4 separate regions of the Homo sapiens genome follow, and all the other regions are linked to region 3. The links are contacts of gene promoters, found by promoter capture Hi-C in blood cells and fetal thymus (Javierre and others, 2016). All regions are on one chromosome and are shown on one strand. Each heading gives the region's core, a stretch centred on a gene start or on the middle of the fragment in contact. The rest is flanking DNA. Distances are from core to core; before and after follow the strand shown.

Region 1 (4,403 bases), core at 1,401-3,900, 400 kb before region 3:
CATCTGTGGCCTGATTCCTGCTCACAGAATCCCCATTCTTTCCCTAGGACATACCTACTTCCTATTGTTTGCCATTCATTCAGTCATTCAGTCAGTCAGTCATTTATTCTTTTTGTGGTCTGTAACCCCAGGGTCTAGACATTTTGATATTTAGCTTTTCTTTCTCGTCCACTCTACTCTCCTCTGAAGGCGTTCTAGTTCTTTATTTCCTTCCCCCAGCACACGTCGCTTCTCAGATCAACAGGAGAACTAAGAAAGAGACCATTCTCTCTTGTTGCCACCAAATTTATTTGTGTCATTTCGCTTTTATGATTTCCTATAAACATGCACGAGGATCTGGATTTAATTGCAGAATCCAGGAAACTCATTGGAAAACAAGTGTTGAGGAGTGGGACTGCCTCTCTGTCTCTGCACGTTCTTCTCCCCCCACCTCCTGCCTTTCGCCGTCACTGTCGTGAGTCCCCCTGTGGAAGACGCCCCAACGAAACCCCCTCTCTGGGTTCACAGCAGTTATGAATGTTCACCGCAGTTATGAAGGGAGCATCACCAAGGAGGCTTTCAGTCTCACAGTTCATGATGTCCACCTACGTCACAGGAAAAGGAAACCCAACCTCTCAGACCGAGTTCAAGGGGGTAAACTTTCACAAGAGCAATATCCTTCACAGTTCCTTCCAAGTTCAGTTTTCTCTCATCGTCTTTATAATGCAGCCTGTCATCACAGGAAGTTGGACCCTTATCTAAAGTTCTGTGTAATCACTTCCACATTCTTAATTCTCACTCGCCCCTCAGTCCACCCTAATCTGGGTTCTGTGCCTATTTTCCATGGGATTTTCTCTTCCCGATGTTAGCAGTGACCTCCATGTTCCTAAATTCAGTGGACTTACGCTTTTCTTATTTTATTAGCATTCAACACAATTTCCACGCCCTTCTGGAAACATCCTCTTTTCACAAATTCTGATACGTTACGCTGCTAGCTTCCCTCTCTTTCCTTTGGTCACTTCTCGTACCCCTTTGCTAGCTCACCATTCCCCTACTCATCCCCGAAATGGTGACTTCCTTCAAGCTTGGCTCCAGGTTCTTTCCTGTTCTCGCCTGTGCTCTCCTTCTAGTCGACTGCAACTGTTTCCGTAGTTCCAGTTACCACCTTCATGACACCCCTGGTTTGAATCTTCACCCTAGGTTTCTGTGAGCTTCACATGTACACGCTCAACTGCCTAGTTGACACTGCCATTGGGTGTCTCACAGGTGTCCCAAATCAACCAAATCAAATGTGTCCAGACCTGGCCTCAGATCTTCCTTCTTCCACCCTTCCCTGTCTTGGGGCGTAAGATCTCTTCCCATCACATCTCCTGCACCATTATCTTAGAGTCAGTCTTTTTTTTTTTTCTTTTTAATTTCGAGACTGAATCTCACTCTGTCGCCCAGGCTGGAGTGCAGTGGCACATAGTCTCGGCTCACTGCCACCTCTGCCTCCCAGATTCAAGCAATTCTCATGCCTCAGCCTCCCGAGTAGCTGGGATTACAGGCATGTGCCACCACACTCGGCTAATTTTTGTATTTTTAGTAGAAACGGGGTTTCACCATGTTGGTCAGGCTGGTCTCGAACTCCTGACCTCAAGTGATTCGCCCGCCTTGGCCTCCCAAAGTGCTGGGATTATAGGCGTGAGCCACTGAGCCTGACTAGAGTCAGTCTTAAAGTGAATCTCAATATTATCTTCTTCCTTATCCCTAGAATGCAGTCTGATGTACTCCCCAAATACTTATGGATTCCAAATATGAATCCATCCATCCGTCTCCATCTCCATCATCCCATCTCAGTGCCATCATCCCTACCAGGATTTCAGCAGGGCCCTGACTCACTTCCTCTCATCCATCTGCTTCCCTGGCAGTCAGTTCTCCATACTGTATTAGTGGAATCATTTTAAAAATGTCAATCCAATTATACGACCTTCTTGTCCTTTCAGAGACTTCTCACTGCTTTTAGGAGAAATATCAACATCCTTAAAAAGGCCTGCCTAGCATGGCCCTTGCCAGCTTCCACTCACATCACTCTTCTCTCTCTTTGCTGTCTGGGCAGGGCCATTTTCCACTTCTGTGAATGTGTCATGTTTTCCATCTGCCATGGGGAGCTTGAACCAGCCCCTGCCTGGTATGTCTTTATTTCTTGTTACCCATTCCAACTTTCACAGTTAATTTGTAGCTTTCTTTCAGATAACCATTTACTTCCTTAAGAAATCCCTGTCTGGCTGGGCACAGTGGTTCACACCTGTAATCCCAGCACTTTGGGAGGCCGAGGCAGGTGGATTACCTGAGGTAAGGAGTTCGAGACCAGCCTGGCCAACATGGCGAAATCCCGTCTCTACTAAATATACAAAAATTAGCCGGGATAGTGGCGCACGCCTGTAATCCCAGCTAGTCAGGAGGCTGAAGCAGGAGAATCACTTGAACCCAGGAGGCGGAGGTTGCAGTGAGCCAAGATTGCGCCACTGCATTCCAGCCTGGGCGACAGAGCAAGACTCTGTCTCAAAAAAAAAAAAAAAAAAAAAAAAGGCCCTGACCTCCTAGATTTCGATTCCCCTCTTACAGGTTAAGCATCTTTTCTATTGCTGAATAGTATTCTGTTTTAAGGATATTTCCTATTTTATTTATCCATTCATCTGTTGATGGATATTTGGTTGGTTTGGGTTTTTTTTAAAAAGTTTTTGTCTAGTATGAATACAGCTGTTAAGAACATTCTTGTGTGGAAATGTTTTCAGTGCTGTTGGGCAAATACCTGGCAGTGTATTGGCCAGGTGGTATGGTAAAACGTTTTATTAACTTTTTAAGAAACTACCAGTTTTCCAAAGTAGCTGTGCCATGTTGCATTCCCACCAGCAGCCTACGAGCATTTCAGTTGCTCCACATCCTCACCAACACTTGACAATTGTTAGTTTTTAATTGTGGGCATTCTAATAAGTATGCCATGGTATTTTTGTGTGTGTGTGTGAGACAGAGTCTCGATCTGTCGCCCAGGCTGGAGTGCAGTGGCGCCATCTCCACTCACTGCAAACTTCACCTCCTGGGTTCAAGCCATTCTCGTGCCTCAGCCCCCTGAGTAGCTGGGATTACAGGCACGTGCCACCACACCTGGCTAATTTTTGTATTTTTAATACAGATGGGGTTTTGCCATGTTGGCCAGACTGGTCTTGAACTCCTGACCTCAGGTGATCTGCCCGCCTCAGCTGCCCAAAGTGCTGGGATTACAGGCGTGGACCACCGTACCCGGCCTTTGTTGTGGTCTTAATTTATACTTTCTTGATGATTATTGGTGTTAAGCATTTTTTCAAGTACTTATGAGCCATTTGTATATCTTCTTTCGTGGAATGTCTGTTTAAATATTTTGCTCATTTAAAAAATTTTAGGCTGGGCATGGTGGCTCACACCTGTAATCCTAGCATTTTTGGAGGCTGAAGTGGGTGGATTGCTTGAGGTCAGGAGTTTCAGACCAGCCTGGCCAACATAGTGAAACCTCATCTCTACTAAAAATACAAAATTTAGCTGGGCGTGGTGGCGGGCGCCTGTAATCCCAGCTACTAGGGAGGCTGAGGCAGGAGGATCGCTTGAACCCAGGAGGCAGAGGTTGCAGTGAGCCAAGATCATACTACTGCACTCCAGCCTGGGCAACAGAGTGAAACTCTGTCTCAAAAAAAAAAAAAAAAAAAAGAAAAATTGGATTATTTTCATATAGTTGAGTTCTGAGAGTTCTTTATTATATTCTTGGTACTAGTCATTTGTCAGATGTATATATTACCAATATTTTCTGCCATTCTGTGACTTTTCTCTTCTTTTAATTTTTTTTTTTTTTGAGACAGAGTTTCACTTTGTTGCCCAGGCTGGAGTGCAGTGGCTCCATCACAGCTCATTGCAGCCTTGACCTCCCAGGCTCAGGTGACCTTTCCGCCTCAGCCCTCCAAGTAGCTGGGACTGCAGGCACCTGCCACCATGCCTGACTAATTTTTCTATTTTTTGTACTGATGAGGTTTTGCCATTTTGTCCAAGCTGGCATCGACCTCCTGAGCTCAAGCAGTCTGCCCACCTCGGCCTCCCAAAGTGCTGGGATTACAGGCATGAGCCACTGTGCCTGGTCTTCATTTTCTTAATTGTCTCTTGAAAAGCAAAAAAGTGTTACATTTTGACAAGGTCTAATTTATCTGGTTTTTCTTCTATGGTTTGTGCTTTTATGTCCTAAGAAGCTTTTACCTCCTTATCCAATTATTCCAGATTTTCCTTTCCCTGTTGAATTGCCGCGGCACCTGTACTAAAAACCCATTGGTTGTATGTGTGTGTGGTACTATTTCTGGACGCTCTATTCTTCTGAGAGACTCTGTGTCTTGCCTTTCATCATTTGCACACGGTATTTTTAA
Region 2 (4,406 bases), core at 683-3,182, 290 kb before region 3:
TTCTTAGAGAGGTCTCTCTCCATCACTCCCCTCTCTCGGCCTTATTTTTTTCCTAACACACATATCACTACCTACAATAGTGTTGTATATTTCTTTGTTAACATTGCTTTGTTCCAGATTCTAATGTCTTGGCTCATGCTCTGTATTTCTTTGGTAATCCATTTGTTGTCTGTCTCTTTCACTGCAGCGCTGGCTCCGCGTGGGGCAAGAGTTTTGCTCACTGCTGCACCCTGCCCACCGCCCCATGCCCCCCATTGGCAGCCGTAATAAGGCCTGGTACCTAGTAGGTTCATGATACGTATTTATTGAATGAATGAGGCACAAGATAATGATGCGAAAAAAATCCCCACCAAGAGGGGAACAAAAAGACCTAACCAGATAATCCCCAATTCATGTCATGGCTTGAGGATGGACCATTTTATTCTGTTAGGCTAGAGCAAATCTTTTTCCCGAAACACCAGGGCTGACAAGGCGGCGTGACCAGGGCTGGAGGATGCCGCCGTCTGTGCAGGCTTCCCCCTGCCCTGGGTGCATGCCCCCTGCGGGGCTGGGGAGAAGGTGACACAGACCTTGCCCTTCCCACAGGCATGCCGGGGAGACTCACGCTTCACGTTCAGCTGCACCGTGTCATTGGAGAGGAACTTCCCATCTGCATCCTGAAGCTGGCAGGTCACAATCTTCCCATGGTGACTCCACTGTGGGGAGAACTTGAGCTCGCTCCGGGTGAAGACAGACTTGATGGTCAAGGAGGTCGAGGTGACAGCAGCCTGCCTCATTGGAACCCCCTCTAGGAGCCACTGCAATTGGATCGGATACCCATAGCAGGAGAAATTCAGCAAGCAGGTCAGAGTGACTTCCTGGGACTCTTGAATTTCTGGAGGGAGCTGGATATGAGGTGGAAAAGGCCTTTCTGCAAAAGAACAGAGCCCGTGCAGGAGCCTGGGGGACTGAGGACGTGAGCGTACACCTGGCTTTAGATGTCCTGTCCCAAATCACCCCTCAGGAACCCCTTGCCACTTCATTCCACCTCTCTCCAGTCCTGCTTTGTTTTTTTGTTGTTATTGTTGTTGTTGTTGTGTTGTTGTTTTTTTGAGATGGAGTTTCCCTCTGTCACCCAGGCTGGAGTGCAGTGGCGCGATCTTGGCTCGCTGTAACCTCTACCTCCCCAGTTCAAGTGATCCTCCTGCCTCAGCCTCCCGAGTAGCTGGGATTACAGGTGCCCACCACCACACCCAGCTAATTTTTCTGTATTTCTAGTAGAGACAGGGTTTCGCCATGTTGGCCAGGCTGGTCTTGAACTCCTGACCTCAAGTGATCCTCCCGCCTTGGCCTCCCAAAGTGCTGGGATTACAGGTGTAAGCCACCACACCCGGCCTCTTTTTTTCTTTAGAGACAGGGTCTTGCTTTGTCACCCAGGCTGGAGTGCAGTGGCGCAATCCTAGCTCACTGTAGCCTCAACCTCCTAGGCTCAAGCAATCCTCTCACCTCAGCCCCCTGAGTAACTGGGACTACAGGCATGTGCCACCACACCTAGCTAGTTTTTTAAACATTTTGTAGAGACAGGGTCTTGCCATGTTACCCAGGCTGGTCTCAAACTCCTGGGCTCAAACGATCCTCCGATCTCAGCCTCCCAAAGTGCTGGGGTTACAGGCGGGAACCACTGCACCCAACGCAGTCCTGCTTTTCTCCACTTTGAATCACTTTTGCTCACCCGAAATCCCCTCTGAAAGGCCTTGACCACACTAAGCCTCCTTGGGAACTGTGATCTACTTTTCTTTCATGCTCATTGCCGGATGTCTGCTTTCTGAATGATTGCAAAGTTCTATTCCCACCACCTCACCACCTCTTTTTTTTTTTTTTTTTTTTTTGAGACAGAGTCTCGCTCTGTCGCCCGGACTGGAGTGTAGTGGCGTGATCTCAGCTCACTGCAAGCTCCACCTTCCGGGTTCACGCCATTCTCCTGCCTCAGCCTCCTGAGTAGCTGGGACTACAGGCGCCTGCCACCACGCCTGGCTAACTTTTTGCATTTTTAGTAGAGACAGGGTTTCACTGTGTTAGTCAGGATGGTCTCGATCTCCTGACCTTGTGATCCGCCTGCCTCGGCCTCCCAAAGTTCTGGGATTACAGGCGTGAGCCACCGTGCCCGGCCTATTCCCACCACCTCTAAGTGAATTTTATCAGTTTAGTTCACGGACTTTTCAGCTTTGACAAACTTGTGTTACTTTCATGGCTTCCTTCAGTATTGCAGCCATCCACGCACCGCATTCCTTTAGTGGAGTGGGTCTGTGTGCACCCAGCCTCAGCTCTCCCCAAGGCTGGACCACCTCCTTCAGACAGCGGGGTCTGAAGTTGCATTGCTCACCCCAAATTTAAGGCTGCTCAGAACTGCCCATCCGGGAAACGGTGTGGAACGGAGTGACCACACTCCCTGTGGCAGGGGCCCCCCACACCTGTGTTTGATGGGTCAAAGCCACCCCTACATGTGCAGTGCTATAACTGAACCTATGTTATAAAAATTATAAGATGTTCGTTTTACTTCTTTTCTTTTCTCTTTGTCCTTTCCTTCCTCCATGCATGATTAGTTACATTTGGTCATTTCAGTAGCAGGTAACCATTAATTCACTCATAATTGTTTAACTTACATCCTGACTCCCTGGCAGCTGCCTGCAAGATAAATGAACTTGTCTCTCTTTCAAAGAACAATGATCCTTAGGTCACACAGACCTCCTTGATGACATCCAGAAATTTGATGAGCCGAGGGGCACAACAGCTTTGACGATCGGGAGGTCACCTCCTGCACACCTACTTTACTCATAAAAGCCCCCACTAACGCTCAAAGTCAGGTCAGATTTGAGAGTTTCTCTCTTCTGTCCCCTTGCTTTGGCTAAATTAAATAATCCTATCTCAGCTTCTAAGCACTGAGGTGTCAGTGTTTGGCTGACTACGCATCGGGAGCTCAAACCTGGCCTTTGGGGTTCAACAACAGTGTCATCTGACCTTGAAGAGCTCATGAGAACTTGCCATGAACATTAACATGCTGGGAGATTTCACTGGAAAATCTAGATTTCCATCGTCTCTTGAAAAATCAGAAGATCAGGCCGGGTGCGGTGACTCATGCCTGTAATCCTAATGCTTTGAGAGGTTGAAGCAGGAGGATTGCTTGAGGCCAGGAGTTCAAGACCAGCCTGGCAACATAGCAAGACCCATTTCTACAACAAATTAAAAAGTTAGCTGGGCATGGTGGCATGCACCTGTGATCCTAGCTACTTTGGAGGTGGGAGGATTGCTTGAACCCGGGAGATCAAGGCTGCAGTGAGCTGAGATCGCGCCACTGCACTCCAGCCTGGGTGATGACAGTGCGAGACCCTGTCTCATAAAAAGGGAAAGGAAGGGGAAGGGGAAAAGAAGAGGAAAAAAAGTAAAACAAACATTTTATGATTTTTATAACACAGGCTCAGTTATGGCACTGCACATGTAGGGGTGGATTTGACCCATCAAACACAGGTCTGGGGCCTCTGCCCTAGGGAGTGTGGTTACTCCGTTCCACACCCAGTTTCCTCTATAGGGAGCTCTGAGCAGCCCTAAGTTTGGGGTGAGCGATGCAGCTTCAGACCCCAATGTCTGAAGGGGGCGGTCCAGCCTGGGGGAGAGCTGAGGCTGGTTACATGCAGACCCACCCCACTAAAGGAATGCGGTGCTTGGATGGTTCCAGTACTAAGGCCAAACACGAGTTTGTCACAAAAGCTGAAAAATACATGGTGAGAAAGAAAGAGGGAAAGATCAGGAGATCCGATAACTTTGGAATCCAGGTCCCAGAGGGGCAGGAACTGAGGGTCAGATGGGACATCCGAGGTCCCGCAGCTCTGTCTAGTGCTGCTGCATCGCCATCGTCATCCGCTGGCGTCCCCTGCCTGAGCTCTGCAGGAAGCTCGGTTTGTGAGCTCTGTGCCAGGAGTCAGGTATTTCCTGCCTCCCACTCACCCCTGCCCAGAGCAGAGGACCCGCTCCCCGAAGGCCTTACCAGAGACATTGAGGTGTATTCGTTCCATCCATTTCTCAGTCTTGGACTCCATCCTCAGCCCCAGCTGACCACTGTCATTGAGGTGCACCGGGTGGATACTCAGTGTGCAGTTCTTATTCTTGTCTCCCAGGAATTGCACCCTTTTCTGCTCAGAAGGAACCTTCCCATCCTTTGTGCTTTCATAGAGTCTTGTCCCATCAAACTTCGAGGTGTTCTTGTTATACTCAGGATTGTGGAACAGGATGAAGCTTTCCAGGTCACCATCTAGGGCTCTGTAGGTGCAGGGGATCCAGACGCAGGCCCCCTCCCAGGCGTAGAGGGTTTCAGGGTGCTCAAAAACCCATTTACTTGAGTCAGAGAAAGCCAAGTATTCTAGAACTCACCA
Region 3 (4,970 bases), core at 2,471-4,970:
TGAAAATCCACTCAACTGGTGGCTCCGTGTCTCGGGCCTCATCTTACATGACTGCAGCTTCCTGTATAAATGCTCTCCTCTTTGGACTTCTGGGACACCAGGCGCACCTGATTTTCCTTCCCGCCTCTGAGGCTGCTGTCTTCACCCACCCTCTACCTACTCCGTAAAATCCAGAGTTTGTAGGGCTGGCCGCAGCCTCCCCCTGCTCCTCCTTGCCCCTAAGTCTGTCTCACCCACCTCTGTGGACTCAGTTTCCCCTCTGTCCCCAGCCCTAGACCCTCTTCCAGGTCCCAGGTCAGGGCTCCTGCAGTCCTTTAAATACCTTTTAAATACCTTTCCCTGGGACCTCCTAGTCCCTTTGCCCCTACCAGGTCCCAGAATGTCTCCCCAATGTCTCCCCAAGTATATTCTTCCTCCCGGTCCTGTCTCAGAGGCCCTCACTCCTAGGACCATCCCCATCTGCATAACATTCCCCTCCCCCGACAGCCTGCCAATCCTCCTGAGTGACTCTCCTTCCCCCGTTTCCTTCTTTCTCTCCATCTGCACCTTGCTCCGGCCCCATCCAACCGCTGGGCTCAGTCTCCCTTCTAGCGCACCCTCCACACGGAGGCTTGGGGAACCTACTGAGACACCAAATCCAACCTGTCCCCTCTTTACCTATAGAACCCTCTGTGACTCCCTAGTACCCCCCAGACAGCTTAAGTCCCTCAGCCTGGCATTTCCAGCCCCACTAGGGTATAAGCATGGCTTTCAGAGATTTGGGAGTATGTTTCCCCCAATTCTCAGACAACCATGTGGGTCACTATCAGGTACCAGAGAGAGCTTCCAAAAAGCAACCCAAACAGTAGAACTTGTAAAATACAAGTTAGACAAGAGAAGCAGGGACTAACCACTGGCGCCACCTTGTGGAGAGACCTGGTACTGCAAGGAATTGGCCAGCTCTTCCCCAAAACAGTCCCACCCCTGCCTGGTCCAGCTTGCACACCTCTTCTCCCACCCAGCTCAACTTCCAGCTTCACCTCCAGAAATACCACAATTGGCTACGTGCACACCAGTGCTGTGTCACCTCCCAGCTTCCCAGAGAAGAGCAAGAGCCTTGCTCTTCCCTCTGCCTGGCATCCTTGGAATTGCAACTCCAGTATCACCTCCTCCAATTCCAAGTTTCCAGGCAGCACCAAGAAGCCAGCAGCAATAACAGTGACACCAACAACAGCAGCCGCTGCAGCCACAACGGCTCTCTGAATCACACACGGACGCACCGCCCTACCCTAACCCCGTCCAGTCCTGCACAGCATCCTTACTTAAATCCTTGCAGCTGTTCACGAGGAAGGCGCCATTGCCATCACCCCCAGTTTACAGATGAGAAAAGGAGGCCCAAAGTCCGGCAGCCACCAAACCCGGGTCACCCGGCAAGTAAGTGCAGAATCGGAACCCTTCAGCATCTGTGTCCAGGTTCGACCTCCACACCCCTAGCCCTGACAGCAGGACTCCCCTCCAAGACCAGCCCGGAGCTGCCAGGGAGGCACCAGAGCCCACTTTGTGTCTGTTTCTCTTTGTACCCAGGCCATCTCTGTCCATTCGGGCATTTTCTGCTTTTCTTCCCTGGCTCATTCACCCATGGGCCCAAGCCCTGGGGCTGTCCTTCCGGCAGCTCCAGGAAAGAGATTGTCCCCAAGGAGCTGGATTCTGTCATCCACCTGCTCGGCTAGGGTGCAATGCCTTCTCCTGAGTAACTGGGAGCCTGGGTTCCCTCTGGACTGCAGCTGATTGGTTTGGGGTCTGAATTGCCAGCTGTGCCGAGACCCGAGGAGGCCAGAGATCTGAACTAATCATTTCAGCCAACACGCTCAGTGCTTCCTGCCCATCCTGGCATTTCAGGCCTCGCCCCACGCTGTTGGACATGCACTGTCACCCTCTCCATTTCACAGATGAGAGAATGGAGGCCCAGGGAGAACACGCCGTCTGCCCAGGGCCACACAGCTAGAAAGTGCTACTGCCCAGGACTGAGCCCGGCTATCCTGGTTGCGGAAGAAGAGAGGGAGTCAGCCCCAGCTAGGGGAAGGCAGAAAGAACAGGACGCCCCTCCATGCGCCCCTCCAGCTGGGTCCCATGTGTGAGAGGTAGAAAGGAAGCCAGGCTAGCTGGGGGCTGCCCAGAGACTCCCAAGGGCCAGCAACTCCATGACGCAGTCTCTCTCTCTCATCCTTATGGTGGTTTCTCTGCCGTCTCTCCCCTCTCCATCCATCCAGGCCCAGTCCAAAGTCCTCCCTCTGCTCTTTTGCCCACAGAGCCAGGAGGTGGAGGAATGTCTGGGATCGGTGGGGGTCCTGGGTCTCTGGGACTCCGAGTTTGCCAACCTCTGTCATGACAGCTCTGCTTGATGGCATGCGTCTTATATGCAGAGCCCCAGACCAGTGCCTGGTGTGTGTCATGCACTCAGCAACCTCACAGAGGGAGGACTGGTATCCATGCTTGACCCAGAGGGAGACCAAAGCCCTAAGAATAATGTCACTTGCACCAGATCACACAGCAAAAAAGATGGCAAGAGCAAATTCAAATGCAAGCCTGTGTGTTTCACTCCAAATCTGTGTCCTTAACCATGACAGCTACAGCTTCCCCGCCTCAGCCCCAGCAGAGGACAAGTCCAGAGTTAGCTGAGAAATCACTGGGGGATGAGGGGAAACTGAGGCAGCACGCCAGGAAGGTCACATAGGGTAGAAGGGAGGCTGGTGGTGGCACAGCTGCACAGAAAATGTGGTTAATAGTTAATCAGGTGGAGGAGGACTAACAGGGGTGGGGATGCATCTGGGAGGGGTGCCCAGAGAGAGGGGGCTCCGAAGAGTAGAGGGTAGAGAAAAGAGCACAGAGGGCGGGGCGCCAGGCAGAGCCAAAGCTGGGGCTCAGGGAAGGGGACTCACCCTCCTTCTGCGCCATGTCACTGCCTCTTGTTAATGATTCCCTGGCTGACCTCCTGGGCCAGGGTGGGACCTGTGAGGAGATGGACGGGGAGGCAGGGCCTGGGGGAGCCCAGCCCAGCCCAGTCCTGGCGCCCCCAGTCCCAGGCGTCCATCCAGGCAGGCTGTAGGGACTGGGCCTTGGCCAGAGCACGCCGTGATCACGGACGCAGATTGGGCTGGGTTCAAGGATGGGGTCAGTGTCTGACCAGCAGCGGGGGGACGCCTGGATTTGCAGGGATGGGGACCCCCATGCCTGAGCCTGGTGGAGCAGGGGACTGAGGATCCCGGTTTGAGGGAGGAGACAGCTGAGGACCTGAAATCATAAGTCTTGGGAAAGGAGGAATTTGGGGGCCAGGACTCCCTAGTATGAGGGAGGAGGGGCCTGAGGGCTGGAACTCCTGGGTCTGGGGAGGAAAGGACTGGGGTCCAACGGCTGAGTCTGAAGGAAGAGCAGGACAGAACACCTAGGTGCTTGGGGGGACGTCATAGTGCCCCCTCTTCAGGTCCCCAGGAACCCCTCTATTAGGAGGTGGGCATTAGGCTGGGTGGGGGGATGAGGGAACCCCTGTCCTCAGGGCTGGAACTGTGAGTCTGGGGGCCCTTGTCCTTACCCTGGGGTCCAGCAGGTGGGGGCGGAGCCTCGAGGTAGTGCCGGGGTCGGGTCAGTCTCCAGGCCTGGGCAGGAGCATGGTGGCCCCGCAGCAGCGGGCGGCCTGGAGGCAGAGGCGGTGGCGTGGGGCCTGCTAGGCCAGGCTGCCTCACCTGAGGAGGAGGGGGCTGGGCGAGGGGCGGGTGAAGGGGCGGGGAGGGGCCGGACCATTCGATTGGCAGCACTGGAGGCCACCTGGCTGATGGGGCCGGGCTTGTGGGGGCTGGACCAGGCGGGCCCAGCTACGGGGCTTGCCTTGGACCTCCAGGGGGACCCAGGTGTGCCTGTCTGCGGGGATGTGGGAACAGGGACAGGCCTGGCCGGAGGCTGGGGGTTTAGGGAGAAAGTGCAGGCTGAAGGGTGGGGGTCTGACCAGAAGAGATCAGATGGAGGGCCCCAGCTGCCCTAAGCCCACTCCACCCTCACCCAGCGAACCCTTCCCCCCGCCCTTTCTGCGTCCTCCAGCCCCAGGTCCTGGCTGTGCCCGCCACTTGCTGCACCTCTGCCTAATTCCCTGCCCAATTCCTGGGCCCCAACCCCAGCCCCAGCCTCTCCCGCCTGCCCTGCTCATCCTGCCCCGGCCCCTCCCCCGCTGGCTTCCTACAAGTCACGGGGCTGGTTTGCTTTGGCAGCCTCCGCCCGGCCGCGGTGACCTCTGGAGCCAGAAAGTCCTAGCACTAGATAGGGGGGATGGGGGGCTTGGCCGGGAAAACACAGCGCTAAGGGCAGAGGCCCAGGCCAAGTGGCCGGAAGCGTCCGCAGGCAGATAACACACTGTCCCGCCAGCAGCCAGGCGCGGCCCACGTCAGACCCAGGGCCAGGTAAACACCAGACGTGCAGGGTCACCGCCAGACACCTGCCCGTGCTCAACCACACGCCGGACACAGTCGGCCTCGGCTGCTTGCCCCAGATAGGCCACCCGCACAACCGGCCCCACCCGCTTACCCACACGTGCCCGCTGTGCCCAGCCAAACCCACCTCCACCGCACCCATTTCCTCCACTCAGCCCAGGGCCCCTCATTGGGACACGCTGGTTTAGCCTGGCTTCCTCTGCCTTTCCATCCATACCCGTCTCTCCTTCCCTCTCCTTCTCCCCAGCGCCCACCTCTCCAGAGACTCACACTGCTGGGCACACCACACACCCCATGCCACCCCTGCACCCCAGCATCAGCCTCGATTCTCTTCCCTCCACGGCACCCCCTCCCTTCCTGGCTCCGTTCCACTCTCCCTCACCCCTGAGCCCATGGCTCCCCCAACCCCGACACAGATCAGGCACTAAGTGGCTTCACCTGTGGGCCCTCAGGTAGGGTCCCTGGAAAGCGGGCTCGAAGATTCGGGGACGGGAATGGGGGGAAGGTGACGGG
Region 4 (4,800 bases), core at 539-3,038, 320 kb before region 3:
TGGGCACTGCTCTTAGCTCCTCTGCCACCCTCAAGAAAACACAGGAGCTGCCTGCTGCTATGAGGACCTCATTGTTCTCCAGAGCAGCCTCTCACCCTGACCCCTTCCCAGAGCCCAATCCATAGTGTGTGGGTGGATGGGGATGGAGGTGAGATCGAGAGCTGGGCTTTAGCGCGCATACCCTTAGGGAGGCTAGATGTCTACTCTGCCCCCAAGCCCCATCGGGCCCCAGCTCGCCACTCCAAGTCCCTCCTGGCGTGAGCGAGGAAGCGCCCTGAGGATGACATGCCAGCTACACCCTCCTCCCCCGGAGGACCTAGCTTTCAGCACAGGCCACCTGGCCACCAGTTCCACAGCCCTGTGAGTGTTCACTGGTCTTTCTTTCAGCTGGTCGGTCCGCTCTCTGCTCCTCCCCTCCCTTCTGCTCCTTCAGCTCCATGCTGCTCTCCTGCTGCCACTGGCCCCAGAGCCCACACAACCTCCTCAGCAGCTCATGAAAGTCGGCTTGGAACCCGGAGGAGGAGAAGTAGTAGACAAAGGGGTCGACACAGGAGTTCAGGGTGCTGAGAAGCGTCACGTAGATCCTCCACGCCGGGCTTTCACCGCAGATATAGCCCACGACATGGGACACGTTGTAGGGCCCAAAGCAGACAAGGAAGTTGAGCAGCGTGGCCGCCAACAGCCCCGCCACCCTCCTCTGCCGGCGGTGGCTGCCCCCTCTGCCGAGGATCCACACCAGGCGGCTGTAGCAGTAGCTGGTGATGATCAGCGGGACCACAAAGAGGACCACAGCCATCTCCAGCCGCACGGGCAGGAGGATGGCTAGCTGGTCCTTCCGGAACTCCAGGTAGCAGGTCCCATTGGTGCCCTGGCTGTGGGAGATGTCCCCTGAGAATTCTATGACGTAGACCACGCTGCAGTGAGCAGAGGCCAACAGCCAGCAGGCCACACTCACCAGACCTGCCTGCCCCAGCCTCGGCCGGGTCTTGTACCACAGTGGGTGGGCCACACTCAGGAAGCGTTCAATGCTCACAGCTGCCAGGAAGAGGGCGGTGAGATAGATGGTGGTGAAGAAGATGAATCCAGAGAGTGGGCAGAGGATGAAGGGCAGGGGCCAGTGCATGCCATTGGCTGCCTCCACCATGCGGAAAGGCAGGAACAGCAGCAGGAGCAGGTCCGAGGCGGTCAGGTTGAGCAGGAGCACGTCCACGGCCACCGGGCGGCGCTGCAGCTTGCCCACGAAGACCACCAGGGCCAGCAGGTTGAGGGGGAGCCCCACCAGGAAAGTGAGAAGGTACACCGAGAAGACGAACCAGTGATTGCCGGAGAAGTAGGACTGGTCGGGGCCTGTATCCATGGTGGTGGCCACTGGTGAGAGAGAGTAACATGGAGTTGGTAGTGGGGGCCCTAACGGCCTCTGGCCAGCAGCATCTCCCCTAAAAGGGCACGAGGTCACTACGCCCACCCCTCTTGTCTCTGGGTGCCTTCCAGGCGGGGTCAGCCTGCCTGTCTTCCTGAGCATGCCCTGTCCCCTGTCCCTTCCCCAGCAGAGAAGCACCAAGGTGCTCCTCCACCCAGCCCCTCGGGCCCAGGCTCACCTGCTTCTTTGAGACCCCAAATGCTCTGCCGCACAGCACCTTGCTGTCTCTCCAGACCTAGTGCAGTTGGCTATTTATCCGGCAGAACTGATAAAGACCTGGCCGTGCCCATGACGTCACTCACTGTTGAGCAGTGGCACATAGATGCCTTGAGCTCCGTTGCCAGGGCTGGTCAGCATGCTAAAAGGGGAACAAATTCCACAACTGCGTGCCTCCCTCCTCATGCAGTCTCAGCTGGGATGCTCTAAGCAGGCCCCAGCCGACGTCTTCCTCTCCCCTTCTTCACTTGAATTTTGTCTGCTTCTCTAGAATGGCATTTATCCAATTTGCCTTGTAAGGGCAGGAAGTGTGATGCAATGACAGAGAGCGAGCTCCGTGAGGTCTGTTTCTTCCTGACTTTGTGATTTGGGGGAAATGACTTAAATTCTCCATGTTTCTGCTTTCTCCCCTGCAGAACAGAGCTCATCATAATACCCATCTCATAGATCAACGCATTAACACATGCAAATTAAAACAATATGTAGGTCGATTAAAAGATTACTAATACATGTTGAGTGGTTTGACGGAAGCCTGGCGTGTGGTCGTGAGCAGGCAGCGGATGCCAGCTGCTATTTTCCCTGTCACTGGTGCAGGATTATCTCTGGGGTGACAATGTAATAATAATAACAATAATAATGGTGGTGGCGATGATGACAGCAGCTGCCTTTTCATGGGCACATAATCCATAGCAGACACTGCTTCTAGGGCAACGCTTTTATGTCATAAAATCCTTGTCCTTCACCGTAGGGAAGTGACTTGCTCCAGGTGATACAGCTTGTGAAATGTCACCACTAGGGTTCAAACCCAAGTGCTGTCCAGTTTCACAGGTGATCTATTAGTTCATTCAAACAATCACAGGGCACAATGAGATATGATTTCACATCCACTAGAATGGCCACAAGCAAAAAGTCAGACAATGCCTATGGTCGGCGAGAATGTAGAGAGATAGGGGCCTCATTCACTGCTGGTGAGAATAATGGGAGGTGGTGTCCCTGCTTTGGAAAGCAGGTGGCAGTTGCTTAAAAAGTTAAACATAAATTCACCATGCGATCCAACAATTCCACCGTAGGTATTTACTTAAGAGAAGTGGAAACTCAGGTCTACTTAAAGACTCAGTCCTAAATGTTCACAGCAGTGTTGGTCATAGTCACCAACAGTGGAAATGTTACCTGGCAGCCCATCAGCTGGTGAGTGAATAAAAAAGTGGCACATCCATATACTGGAATTCTATTTGGCAAAGAAAAGGAATGAGCTACCCATACACACTACAGCCTTATGTTGAGTGAAACAAGCCAGACGTAAAAGACCATGTACATATATTGTCAGATTTCATTTATTTATATGATATGTCCAGAATAGGCAAAGTTATAGAGTCAGAAAGTAGACTCGTGGTTGTCTGGGGGATGGAGGTAGAAATGAAGATTAAGTTGTTTTTTTTTTTTTTTTTTTTTTTTTGAGACAGGGTCTTGTTGTCGCCCAGGCTGGAGTGCAATGGTGCAATCTTGGCTCACTGCAAACTCTGCCTCCCGGGTTCAAGAAATTCTCATGCCTCAGCTTCCTAAGTAGCTAGGATTACAGGTGCCCGCCACCACGCCTGGCTAATTTTTGTATGTTTAGTAGAGATGAGGTTTCGCCATGTTGGCCAGGCTGGTCTCGAACTACTGACCTCAGGTGATCCGTCCACCCCAGCCTCCCAAAATGCTGAGATTATAGGCGTGAGCCACCCCGCCTGGCCCAAGATTAAGTTTAAATGAACATGAAGTAAAATCCTTTACTAGGGTCATGAAAATGTTCTAAAACTAGCTGATGGTAATGGACTCACACCTCAGTAAATTTACTAAAAATCATTGAATTGTACACTTAACATTGGTGAATTTGATGATATGTACATAATATCTCAATTAAGCTGTTAAAAGTGCAGCAGTAGGCTGGGTACGGTGGCTCAGGTCCGTAATTTTAGCACTTTGGCAGGCTGAGGTGGGAGGATTGCTTGAGCACAGGTTGTTTGAGACTAGCCTGGGCAACATGAGGAGACCCTATGTCCACAGGGGAAAAAAAAAAAAAAAAGAGAGAAAGAAAAAAGAAATTAGCTGGGTTTAGTGGCATGTGCCTCTGGTCCCAGCTACTTGGGAAGCTGAAATGGAAGAATCGCTTGAGCCCAGGAATTCAAGGCTGCAGTGAGCCATGACTGTGTCACTGCACTCCATCCTGAGCAACAGAGTGAGACTGTGTCTAAAAAAAAAAAAAAAAAAAAAAAACAACACGCAGTTGTGAACAAAAAGTTTTTGCTGTCATGCTGTTTACATTACATTTGGTGGTGAGGGCTTGGGGGATGGAGTAGGGGAAGGATCATGAAGACGTGGATACTGAAGAGGCAAAGAGCCACTGGAGGGAACATTGGGGCAGGGGAGTCACGGGTGCACAGACTTGGCCTGCTGGGGGAGCTGATAGGAGGTTTGGGTCTCACAGGAGTGAGAGGCGCCTGGGGTGGATCACACTGAGTCTCCTGGGCCCCAGGGAGGCACTGGATTTGCCCTAAGTGGGGGGAGGCAGGAGGAACTGGGAGAAGCAGCCCAGTACCCAGCAGGGGCTATGGAGCAGGAGTCAAAGAGAGTGGGCCCTGGCACCCTGTGATGCGGGAGGAGGCACTGGGGCTCCCTGGGGTGGAGTTTGGGTTTTTACTGAAATTCCCTGGTGTTGTCACTGCACAAGTGCCGGGCTTGTTTCTGGCTTCCAAAAGAAGTTACTTAATTTCTCTGGCCTGTTTCCATATTGATAAAACAGACATAGAACTTTCTTTGGAAGGCTAGTAGAGGCATTCATTCATTCATTGAGCGAACATTTACTGAGCACCTACTGCGTGCCACTCTGTCTTCTGGGCGCTGGGGATATATCATCAATTACAAGAAAAATCCTTGCATGCGTAGACATTTCAGCCTGAACAGAGCTCATTTGTAGAAATTGGTGCGTGCACCCCAGCTGGTGGCTGCCATTTGTTGTGCTCCAATACATCATCATGTGCATGGCATTGCTGTAATTTAGAGCAGGTGCCCAGGTGTCTGTCTCCTTCACAGCCACAGCCACTCCCTTCTGACCTCCCTCTCATGGATGTGGGATGCTATCCTTTGCGAAATGGACCACAAATACAGGGTTAACCCCCACA

Evidence for each region. The method cuts DNA at HindIII sites, captures the fragments that hold promoters and counts their contacts. A CHiCAGO score of 5 or more calls a contact.
Region 1: a fragment that was not itself captured here is called in contact with the fragment with the promoter of HPN in region 3 in 3 of 17 cell types (total B cells, naive CD4 T cells and naive B cells); the score reaches 7.6 in total B cells.
Region 2: a contact is called between a fragment that was not itself captured here and the fragment with the promoter of HPN in region 3, in 3 of 17 cell types (total CD8 T cells, naive CD8 T cells and naive CD4 T cells). The highest score is 6.5, in total CD8 T cells.
Region 4: the fragment with the promoter of FFAR3 here is called in contact with the fragment with the promoter of HPN in region 3 in 13 of 17 cell types (naive B cells, naive CD8 T cells, non-activated CD4 T cells and 10 more); the score reaches 14.3 in naive B cells.

Annotation. Positions count from the first base shown.
Region 1 is chr19:35,442,575-35,446,977 of GRCh38, reverse strand. No RefSeq gene overlaps it. Among named protein-coding and RNA genes, the nearest start is that of FFAR2, 3.5 kb to the left of the region's middle. RefSeq lists an enhancer at 685-764. The HindIII fragment of the contact is 3,169 bases long and covers 1,066-4,234 here.
Region 2 is chr19:35,332,540-35,336,945 of GRCh38, reverse strand. It overlaps CD22 (CD22 molecule), which reads right to left. Exons shown (of 14, transcript NM_001771.4): 3 at 4,022-4,399; 4 at 605-910. Among named protein-coding and RNA genes, the nearest start is that of CD22, 5.6 kb to the right of the region's middle. RefSeq lists a silencer at 3,432-3,641. The HindIII fragment of the contact is 4,678 bases long and covers 1-4,271 here.
Region 3 is chr19:35,040,471-35,045,440 of GRCh38, reverse strand. HPN (hepsin) reads right to left here and starts at 3,720. Exons shown (of 13, transcript NM_001384133.1): 1 at 3,569-3,720; 2 at 2,919-2,988. The coding sequence starts at 2,934. RefSeq lists an enhancer at 4,249-4,970. The HindIII fragment of the contact is 15,827 bases long and covers 1-4,970 here.
Region 4 is chr19:35,355,448-35,360,247 of GRCh38, reverse strand. It overlaps FFAR3 (free fatty acid receptor 3), which reads right to left and starts at 1,788. Exons shown (of 2, transcript NM_005304.5): 1 at 1,599-1,788; 2 at 1-1,368. The coding sequence starts at 1,357. The coding sequence ends at 317. RefSeq lists an enhancer at 1-467. The HindIII fragment of the contact is 8,969 bases long and covers 1-4,800 here.